Regions from separate parts of the Homo sapiens genome. Here region 1 is linked to region 2. The links are contacts of gene promoters, found by promoter capture Hi-C in human tissues and cell types (Jung and others, 2019). All regions are on one chromosome and are shown on one strand. The core of a region is centred on a gene start or on the middle of the fragment in contact, and the rest is flanking DNA. Distances in the headings are between cores, read along the strand shown.

The links. Contacts are between HindIII fragments. The study calls those that stand out against the background at their distance.
Region 1: a contact is called between a fragment that was not itself captured here and the fragment with the promoter of ST8SIA2 in region 2, in 2 of the 25 tissues and cell types used here (heart left ventricle and neural progenitor cells).

What each region holds. Positions count from the first base shown.
Region 1 is chr15:92,665,784-92,671,388 of GRCh38, reverse strand. No RefSeq gene overlaps it. Among named protein-coding and RNA genes, the nearest start is that of FAM174B, 13 kb to the right of the region's middle. The HindIII fragment of the contact is 4,660 bases long and covers 1-4,086 here.
Region 2 is chr15:92,390,453-92,395,976 of GRCh38, reverse strand. ST8SIA2 (ST8 alpha-N-acetyl-neuraminide alpha-2,8-sialyltransferase 2) reads right to left here and starts at 2,096. Exons shown (of 6, transcript NM_006011.4): 1 at 1,815-2,096. The coding sequence starts at 1,912. The HindIII fragment of the contact is 17,571 bases long and covers 1-5,524 here.

The DNA.
Region 1 (5,605 bases), core at 507-3,006, 280 kb before region 2:
CTTGAGTCTGGGAGTTCGAGGCTGCAGTGAGCTATGATCATAACACCGCACTTCAGCCTGAGTGACAGTGAGAGCCCTGTCTCACAAAGCAAACAAATGAAAACCCCTCAAATACCGAATTTTGTAGGGGCACTCAAATCTTGCAGTCTTTTATAAAGGGGCAACCAGTTAATGACAATAGTAATATTTTTAGATTATTAGCAAATTGAAAATGCAAAGAAAAAAAATCCTCATACAGAACTGGCGGGTCCCTGAGAACATGTCTGTGGACTCCAGTTTGAGAAACACTGGCTAGAAAATGGAACCATCTGTCCCCTTAAGGAAGACACAGATGAAGTGACCTCTTTTTCATTTCTTCAACTTCCTGGGGGAATATCAAGCTGTGAAGGCTCTGAAGGGATAGGCAAGCTGTGAAAAGCTGTTAGGAACTTGGGGACAGGCCAGGAATGGTTAGGGAGCTGAGAATTCTCCAGTTCCTGCCCTGAAGACAAAGTGAAGGGAACAGAGGGTATTAAACACTTGCGGTTGACAATAGCTAGAGTAGGGATAACTTTGGAAAGACCCAGTACAGCAATTAAGAGGTAAAGAGCCACAACCCAGTGCCCTAAGGCAGAAGTTCTCAACTGGCTGCCTATTAGACTCCTCAGGGGAGCCCTTTAAACGTGCTGATGCATGGATCCATCAAAGATTTGAATTAATTGGCCTGGAGTTGAGCATCAGTGTTTGTAAGGTCCTCCAGGGGATTCTAATGTGCAACCAAGGTGGCTGATCCCTGTCCTAAGGGAAGCCTTCTCTGTGGTATAATTACATTTAAGGCCACCTGTATTAATTTGTTTAATGGGGAGAAGGGAACAAACCCTTATTGAATGCACTGTGCTAACTCTTTAAAAAAAGTGAATATAAATAGCAGCTAACATTTATTGAAAGCTTGTTATATGCCTGGCATTGTGTTAAGCACTTCATATGCTTTTTTTTTTTTTTTTTGAGATGGAGTCTCCCTCTGTTGTCCAGGCTGGAGTGCGGTGGCGCGATCTCGGCTCACTGCAAGCTCCGCCTCCCGGGTTCACGCCATTCTCCTGCCTCAGCCTCTCGAGTAGCTGGGACTACAGGCGCCCGCCACCATGCCCGGCTAATTTTTTGTATTTTTAGTAGAGACGGGGTTTCACCGTGTTAGCCAGGATGGTCTCGATCTCCTGACCTCGTGATCTGCCCGCCTCGGCCTCCCAAAGTGCTGGGATTACAGGCGTGAGCCACCGCGCCCAGCCCCTACATGCATTTAATCTTTACAACATTCTTACGAAATTGGTATTATGTCCATTTTACAAATGAGGAAACAGAGGCCGAGACCAAGAAATTTGCCTTCAATCATTCAGTAACAAACAAATATACAAATGAAAATAATAACTTGCCTAAGGTCATACAGCGAGGGGATGGGATCCGAACCACGGCCTTTAGTTCCTCCACTGCCTCCACACTACCTCAATAATGCGTTCAGCACCTATTTATTGAGTATGGGCTATATAAGTGCCTGACACCAGGATAGGTGTTGGGGACACGAAGATGATCAAAGTAAGCTTTCTGCTGCCTCCAATCTTATCAGAAAGACAGCTAACTCCAAAACAATGTGATCTGTGCTATTAGAGTTGCCCTTGTTTGCCCCGGACTCTCCTAGTTTTAGCACTGAAAGTCTCACATTCTGGGCAACTTCTTCATTCCTGCCTGGACTGGGACAGCTGGTCCACCTTAACTGTCCTAGAGGAATGTGTGTGGGCAGGGGTGAATTTGTATGGGGTGGTGGGGGATTGTGCAGAAGAGATTAGCAAAATCTTCACAAAGGAGCTTATGTCTTGTTTGTAGAATGATTAGGAGGAGTTCTTTAAGCAAAAAATGGAGAGGAGAGGGTTAAGGAAGAGCATTCCTGGTGGAAGAACCAGGGAGCAGTTTAGGCAAAGGCTCGGATGGAAGGAGTTTAGTAAAGTTAAGAGTTTGGGGTGCTGGGAGGTAAGGGTTAGATGAAGCTAGGAGTTTAGTGAATTTAGAGTTTGGGGTGCTGGGAGGTAAGGGTAGATGAAGCTAGGAGTTTAGTGAATTTAGAGTTTGGGGTGCTGGGAGGTAAGGGTAGATGAAGCTAGGAGTTTAGTGAATTTAGAGTTTGGGGTGCTGGGAGGTGGGGGTGGGGAAGCTGGGCCCATACTAAGGAATTAGGACTCTACTGGCAGAGTTTAAACCCCATAAGGGTTTTCAGCAAGGGAGTATTATGCTTGATTTTGCATTTGGACAGATCACTCTGATTACGATGTTAGGGTGGGAATTCTCCTGAAGAGAGGAGCCTGGAGTCTTGGAGAACGGTTGGAAGGATGTTATAATACAGGTGACACATGAGGACAGGAAAGAACAACAATAAGAAACATAATATGTAATGTTTATTGATGACTTAATACGTACCAGTTATTATGCTAAGTTCTCTACATGTGCTATCTCATTTAATCCTAATGATAAGTGAGCTGCTATCTTTATGCCCATATTACAGGTGAGGAAATTGAGACTTAAGGTTTAATTTAGTGCAAGTTACACTGAGAGTAAATGGCAAAGCCAAGATTCCAGCTCTTGCCTTCTGACTTTAAATACGTGCACTCAACTCCTGTTGCTTGCTATAAACTACGGCAGTAGGTACTTATCCATTCAGTCCAGCAACATTTATTGAGCACTTACTGTGTGCCAGATACATTTCTGGTTGATGAAGAAATAGCCAATGAACAAAACAGACACAACTCCTGATTTGATGGACATTACGTGTGTGTGTGTGTGTGTGTGTGTTTTGAGAGACGTATAAACAAACAAGTTACACTAACTTACTCGTGGTTGGATTTGGACTGTTTCTGGAGAGAAGAGGAAGGACTTAGTAATGGGGGGATTGTAGGGGGACCCCTAGGTTCCTGCCTCCGCCAAGTGCAGTGTGGTGGCCAGCAGAGCGTAGGAGCTCTGGAGGTAGGGCAGGTTTTGGGGAACGATGAAGAATCTTGTGTGGGACATGCTGGGTACCTGAGAACCCAGGGAGAGGGGCCAGAGTGAGAAAAGAACTCAGCAGGAAGCCCTGGGGACTGAGTTAAAAGGGAGAGGAGCCAGCTCCCGAGAGAGGGGACAGAGAGGTCAGAGGGAAGATAGAAAACTGGAGACCTCCAAGGCAGGAAGCCCTGGCATCATCAAATGCCACTTAGAGGTTCAGGGAGGGCAAAAGGGAGACACACAAAGTTGTAGGCTCTCCCCTCCCGCTCCCCCTCCCTCCCTCCCATTCCCCCTCCCGTTCCCCCTCCCTCCCTCCCTCCCTCCCTCCCTTCCTTCCTTCCTTCCTTCCTTCCCCTCTCCTCTTCCCCTCTCTCTCTCTTTCTCTCTCCCTCTCTCCCTCTTGGTTTCTCTTTTCTTTTCTTTCTCAGTGAGAAACCAGAATGGGAAATATCTACTGGAGGGTGAAGATACAGGAGGAAGCAGAGGTAATGCGTGAAGCAGAGCCTCAGAGGAGGTGGAGGAGGGTTGAACTCAGGGCCAACGTGTGGGGGCTGGTCTCAAACAGGAGGGTGTATCCCTGAGGCTGGAGAGGAGTGAGAAAAAAATGGTCAGGAACGCAGAGCAGCGCCTCTCGGGAAGTGGCTGCCAACGTTACTTGTGAGGTGGAAATGTCCAAAGTGGGTCTAGGATGCATCAACACAGGGGTGAAGGTTTGGGCTCCACACTGTGGGGAACAGGAGAAACAGCCATCCACCCGGGGCCATCCCCAAACTGACCTTTTCTGTGTCCCTAACCCTCAGAGGCCCGAGCTCTGCCTGGGAATTAAAACACAAATTCCTGCAAACGTGAGGTCTAACTCCACTGTCACGGAGAGGCTGACGATGCCAGCTGTGGGAATTGCAGTGGGGACAGGTATGGAGAGGATGTTTCTGGACATGGGAGTGACTGCCACTTGGAGCTGCAGGCAGAAGCAACAGCTGGTGTGTTTTCCTGAGCAGGTTGGGGGATGGCTCAAAATCAATATTTACTTTACAAACAGCCATCCGGAGGGTGAACCGCCCTGCCTCTCACCCTCAGCTTTTCTGGGGAAAGATGTCTGTGGCCTGCTTAGCTCTGCCCTGCTGGTCTTCGCCTCTCGATCCAAAGCAACTTTGATGTGTATGGGAAAAGTACTGCACTGTGAAAGGAACTGTGGACAGATGGTCCACCTGAGCTCAAAGGTGGGGTCCCTCCACGTATGCACCTCAGGACTTTCCATCCTGTGGGAATCTCCTAAAAAGTTGCTCCATGGGTGGCACTCTCTGAGCAGCACGATTGGTGGGGAGGGCTCTGTCAGCAATATTATGTCGTCACTGACGTCTGCAGGCTCTCCTAGGGGACACTTCAGAAACTTTCATAGAAATATTTCTCTTTGGCAACAGCTCGCTGTTTCCATGGTTTGACGATACTAGCCAGCTGTAAAGTAGGCCAGCACGGGAGAGGGCGGCCCTGGGGACACGGGCTGCATGGCACGCTCATTTCCAACCCTGGGGCAAGTCAGATAACCTCATTAGGTCTCCATTTCCTAATCTTCAAAATGGAACAACAGTGTGAGCCTCAGTGGCCTGGTGTTGTGAGAATGAGGATTAAAGAACTGCAAATTTTTGAGTTTTTTTGGTGAATAATTGTGAAGTCTTTTGGAGGACATATTTCAGAAACAAATGAAATAATAAAGCAGACCTTAAATGTATTGATATAAATTTTGCATAGGTCCAGTAACCTTTTCTTTGCTACGCTTAGTGATCTACTGATTTAAAAAGAGTCCTCTCATATGATACTGACAGAACATTTTTAACCTATTTTTTTTTAACCAGCAATAAGTTTACATAGTTCAACATTCCAAATGCATGAAGGGATACAGTTACTATTCCCTTTCCTGCCCCTGTTCCAGCCATCCAGAGTTCCCCTGCCTAGGTAGGGTGACCAACTGGTCCTGCTTTGTCTAGGACTTTCTGTTTTAGCTCTGAAATGTCCTCATCCCAGGAGACTCCTGAAACCCCAGCAGACTGGGATGGTTGGTCACCCTCTGCCATAGGCAACCAACATTATGAGTCTGTCATGTGTCCTTCTGAAGATATTTTGACAACAGCAATGTTAGTATTAAAAAAAATCCTTTTAGGTAAAGAAATAAAATGTCTTTCTCATAAAACACTAATGCATGAGGCTGGGCATGGTGGCTCATGCCTGTAATCCTAGCACTTCAGGAGGCTGAGGCGAGTGGATCACCTGAGGTCAGGAGTTTGAGACTAGCCTGGCCAACATGGTGAAACCCCGTCTTTACTAAAAATACAACAATTAGTCGGGCGTGGTTGCGGGTGCCTGTAGTCCCAGCTACTTGGGAGGCTGAGGCAGGAGAATCGCTTGAACCCGGGAGGCGGAGGCTGCAGTGAGCCGAGATCACACCACTGCACTCCAGCCTGGGTGACAGAGCAAGACTCCGTCCCAAATACAAACAAACAAACAAAAAACCAAACTAATGCATGACATCAAGGGGATAAGGGAGCCCACAATAACATGGAGGCCCAAATCTTATCATCAAACATAATTGTTTTTCCCATAA
Region 2 (5,524 bases), core at 847-3,346:
CATTATGTGCAAAGTGATCTCCTGATTGCATTTTAAAAATTAAAAGTTCCCAGCATGTGGAAGGTATTTGGTAAGAATTCAGTGAATGGCTGACCTAGGGGTGCCTGGATAAGCACAGCACTTATGTTTTTATAACAGGACAATGGGCAGCGCCGGGCCTTCCCTCTCACATGGGCAAAGGTCAGCAAGTGATCTGAGCCGGGCAGTGCCCACATCCGGAATCAGAAGCCGGAGAGCCTAGAGGAAGGCCCTCCTCACCGCATCTTCCATTACCCCAAGACGTGACTTGCCCGATTTCCTTTCCAATCCACGTTTCTGAGGCGAGCAGCTATGAAAAGTAGCATGTTTATCTCTGCGTGGGAATTGGTGGCACGTTGTGTATTAACTGCGCAGCATTTGTGAAAGTTTTCAGAGCTCTTGGGGAAACCGAGAATGAGAGGAGAAAGAGGCAGGGAGAGGGGTTCTGGAAGCCCAGCGGAGTTCACAGAAGGAATTCCAGGGAGATGGGCAGGGGCAGGGAGAAAATGAGAGCAGGAAGCGGCACTTGTCACAAGTTTTTGTCCTTGGGGCCTCGGCATCCCGCCTGGGCCCAGGACTGGCATCTCCCATTTGAGGGACTGACAGTGTGGCGGACCCTCAACTAGCACAGATAACAAATGAAGTAACAAATGGGACAAAGGAGGGGCGCACGCGGCGCGGGACTCGAGAAGAGCGCCTGGCAGAGCACAAATCCCACAGAAGAAGAGACCTTCTGCCCTCTTTGAGACCTCACCTTCCCCTTGCCCAGGGCCAGGAAGCTCTCCTCGGGCCTCCTCAGAACCCCGGCTGCCTCCCCACCTGTCGTCTACCGCCCTTTGGAGGTTCCGGAGAGGGGCCCGGCCCGGCGAGCCGAAGGCTGCGGGGCGGGGCGCGAGTCTCAGCCCCTGGGACACACAGCCGGTGCGTCCCGCGCCTCAAGTGCGCACTCCAGGAAGTCCGGAGCCGGGAGGATCCGGGCTCGCGGTCCCACCCTACCTCTGGCGAGGTCGGGAGAAAAAAAGCGCCAGATCGCCCGCCTGAGGGCCCAGAAGCCCACCGGGCGGCGGTACAGACTTTCCCGAAATGTCTCCGTCTCCGCGCTGCGAGCGCACAGGAACCCAGGGTCGCCGGGGTTGCCGTGGCTTGGCTGAACGTCCAAAGCCAGGCGAGGGCGGGGGGTCTCAGTCCAGCTATGCGAGCCCTTCTCTAGTGGTGCCAGCTCCTACGCCGGGCTCCCGGGCCGGCGGGAGGCGCGTGTGCCTGTCTGTGTGTGCAGGGGACATTCCGCTTCCCAGTAGCCCATGCAGAACCCCGCCCTCCGCTCCGGCCCCAGGAACCCCTCCCCCAGCTCAGAGATCCCTGCGCGCCCCCTGCCCACTTTGCCAAGGCGAGAAAGCGGCCGTGCTGGAGACAAAGAAACTCCTGCCTCCCTCCACTCTCGGCCCCTCCGCCCGCCCGAGACACTCCCCGGCGCCCTCCCTCGACCCCGGCGACACTGCGCTTGGACACGCCAGGCAGGGGGGCAGGGTGGGCGAGTCCGCTTCCCGACGCGGGCCAGCTGGGGGCTTCCCGTGAACCCCGCCCGGGGACACCCCACAGCAGCCGCGCCCCCACCCTCCTCTCCCCAAACCGTCCCGGGCCCCTGTCGCCGCCACCTTCTGCCAAACCGTCCCCATCTCTCCAGCGGAGCTACAGCGGGGCGCGGCGCACACAAAGGGGGTCGGAGGGTGGAGAGTACAGAAGGAGGGAGAGATCCCGCCAGGGCTCGTGGCACGGGCCTGGGAGCAGCTATTTACCCGATTTCTTCTTCGATCTCTGAGATGTCTGCGAAGATGAGGAAGACCACGAGCAGCGTGAGCGCGGCCAGCATCCAGCTCCGGAACTGCAGCTGCATGGTGGGTTCGCGCCCGCCGGGACCCACGCGGGCCGGCGCGAGGAGCAGGGGCCGGAGGGCGCAGCGGCGGACGCCGGAGCCTCCGCGCGCCGCGCGCAGCTGGGCAGACACCCTGCGCTCCGGACGAGTCCGGGCCGGCGGCGGCAGCGGCAGCGGCAGCGGCAGCGACAGGCAGGGGTTGCTCAGGCGCGGCGAGCCCGCTCGCTCCCTCCCGGCTCCCGCCTGCCCCTCCCTCCCTCCTCTCCCTTCCCCCGCCCCGCGCCCGGCTCCGCGCGCAGTTTGACAGCTTTGCTCCGCGCCTCTGCTCGCCTCCTCCCACCAACTCCAGCGTCCAGGCGCTAGCCTTTGCTTCTCCCGCCTGGCTTTATTCAGCTCCCGAGGGCGCGGGGATGCAGCCGGACGCCACTCCTGGCCTAGAGAGACTGGGCTCTGGCCACCGCGAGCGACCGGGTACGGAGCTGAGCCCAGGGAAGTGCGCGCACCGCCCGGCGCACCCCTCAGGCTGGCAAACGCCCTCCCTCGCCCGCTCTTTGTCCAGCTCCCTCGCCTCCTCGCAAAGTTTTCTCGACACAAAGACCAACACCTGGGGACAGCCCCCAGCGCGCGGCGAGAAGGCGGTTTCAGCCAGGCAGATGTTTCAGCAGTTGATGAATTAGGAGGGGAGGTGGGGGAAGGGGAGGAGAGAAGAAATATCCAAGACAGGCCAACTTCAGTGAAGATGCTGACTACAGTTTGTGGGCGAGGCTCTCAGCCCTCGAGAAACCACTCCCTCCAGGTGCTGATCTTTATCTCCATTTATAGACCCGATACTGGGTCGGGAGAGCTCTCCGAGCTGCCCCCAGATCACGCAGTCCTGGCTGGAACCCTCGGCTAGAACCCCAATGGGAGACTCAGCGCCCGCCTTCCCTCCGCCCTCGCGGTGCTGACGCCGGGTGGCCTTCATCTCCCCAGTTCTTGGACTCTCAATGACCCTAAGATCAATAACCGCGGGAGGCCTGTCTTGATCAAAATGCCTTCTAGAAAAATATGGCTCCCACAAGGGGTAATGCCCCCCACCCTTCCGAATATTGTACACTTTCACAGCCTTAGACAGTTTAAGTCAAATTACATTTCACACCAACCATTGGCCAGGGGTGGGAAGGGCCCCATTAAGTTTTACTGGAATTAGATAATTACCTTTTATTTTCTTTGCACGAATTGGAACAATTCCTGAAATTAAGAAATGTAACTTTCCAGAAATGATCATCTGGTTTATGAAAGGGTCCTTTGGGTTTGAGTGTGGGGAGGAGGAGTCCTGTTGGAGAAGCTACATGGAATGTCCTAAGTGCTGGAAACCACACCCCAGTGAATGGGAGGGGCGTGTCGGCCTTATCCCCTGGACCACTCAGAGGAGTTTGGCGAGGGGCTGGCAGCAGCCAAGTCCCTTCATGGCGCCCCCGGGGATGTAAGAGGGCCTTCTGATTTTCTACCAAAGTACTGCTTGTGCCCAGAGCCCTTCTGCCCCTTCGTGTGTAAGGAGGGGCAGGAGGGAGGCTTCCAAGCCGGGGGCTGCTGCCCTTGTTGACCCTGGGAGCCAGGGCAGGCTCTCCCCTGCAGGAAGAGGTCCCATCACCCAGCCTGGAGAATGGATTAGGGAAGCAGCACAGCGTCAAGGGAGAGCTCTGCCTCACCTCCTTTGAGGAGTGCCAGGAGCAGATGTCTTTTCCCCAGAGGAAGCGTGTACTAATTCCCACCTCAGCGCTTCATTTCCTTCCCATTCCTTGGCGAAGTCAGCGCACCCTGCTCCTTTTACAGTAAGCACTTCGAAAATACCATGTATTTTTCTTGGGGTGAGGTTTTTCTGATGTGGAGAACAATGTTGGACGTCACTCTCCCTGTCTGTTAGAGGCAGGGATGAGACGTCAAAGGAGAGTTTCCCATCAGTGTGGCTGGCACGGGGTCTAACCATCCTTATTTCAAGTTTTCAAAATGCCAAAATCTTTCCCTTTGTCTTGCTTGAAGGGTGGTTTAGGAGGTGTGGAGTGGTTTTTGTCATCATTTTGCCTTGTTTTTCTGAAGGGAATGGTTGGGATACCTGAATAGGGAGAGGAAAGTACAGGATGCGCCTGGTATGCTGCTCTGTATTTGAATCGCTCCTCCACTCACTCCAACGTGCAGCAATATTTAACCTACCTTGTACCAGGCTCTGTGCTAGGAGCTAGAGACACCAAGTGGAGAGAGACACCTCGGGTTTCCTGCCCTCTAGTGGCTCACTGTTCACAAGGGAGACAGACATTCAGGTGTCTAATTATGATAGGGGATTTGAGCTGCAGTAGACCTAAGGTCTCCTGGCTCACTTATAATTGATTAATAAGATCCCCCAAAAGAGCAAGAAGAAACTGACCTTTCTCTCCTCTGTTCTCTGCTTCTCTGCTTCTCTACCTACTGCACTCTTACCATGCAGAACATCATGGAAGTGTTGCCGTGGTACTAAATTCACCAGGTCGGGTCAACCTCATTGCTGCAAGCACAATTACAACAGAGTCTATTTCCATTTCCTGTTAGGTGACCCACGATTACAGCAGAATCTATTTCCGTTTCCTGTTAGGTGGCCCATGTTCTCATCCCAGGCTCAGTCTTCCTTCTTTGCACCCACCAGACCAGAGTCATATGAGTGGACAGGAAACAGTGGAAGCTTTTGTTGAATGGTTCGATTCCATATAGAGAGATCCCTGTAATCAGACCCACAGAGCAATATCTCTCAAGTATACCTGCTCGGAAGTAGAGCTAGCTTCCTCACATAGACGCTGTCCTTGCGATGAGAGTCACTGAAGTGGGATTTTTCTTGGAGGGTGATGGGGGACCCTTGTGATCGTTGACTATAGAATACCTGCTATCTGTGATCACTTAGGTTTGGGTCTCGTTGGGCCAGCTCCTTTAACAAGTGATTGTGTACATACACCACCCGTTGCTGCCTCTGCAAAAATGAGTTTGTTCCTGGAATCTGGAAAGAGGAAGACTGATGAGATTGGTGGAGAATGTCAGACTGGTGATGTGAACTGCCACATGGGCATGTGCTTGGCTTGGCCACCCTGACCCCTCCCCTCCTGCTTACCCCTCTGTTTAAGCAAGTCTCTTTTCCTGCCTTGGATTTTCCAAGAAGCCCGAAGGTCCTACAGCCATCACTTCTGTAGACTAAGTCATTGAATGTTTGGGTTAAAATGAGGAAGTGGTGGCAAATTAAAGGCCATTACCACCCATTAACATTTTAACTCAAATTAATTGAGTATATAAGCTATTCAGGCAACTGGTAAGGCCCTGGGCAGTTTGTAGTAATGAGGGACAGAGGGCCAAGAGGCTTTTCAGAAGCTCAAAGGAGCCCAACAGGGTCACACATGGACACCCCTTCCTTGTGTCTGACACTGGCTGAGGGCATGTTTGTCCTTCTAGCTGCAACCTGGAGAATGGGGAACCACCCAAAGCCTGAATTCGTGGAAACTCTAAAACTGTATCTACCATTTACACATAGGGCTAAACTCCCCCTCTCCACCCCAGCTATGCAGAATCTTCACCTGAGCGACTTCTTGGGAGTAGTAAGGTCTGTATTGATAATAACTTGTCCAAGTGACTGGC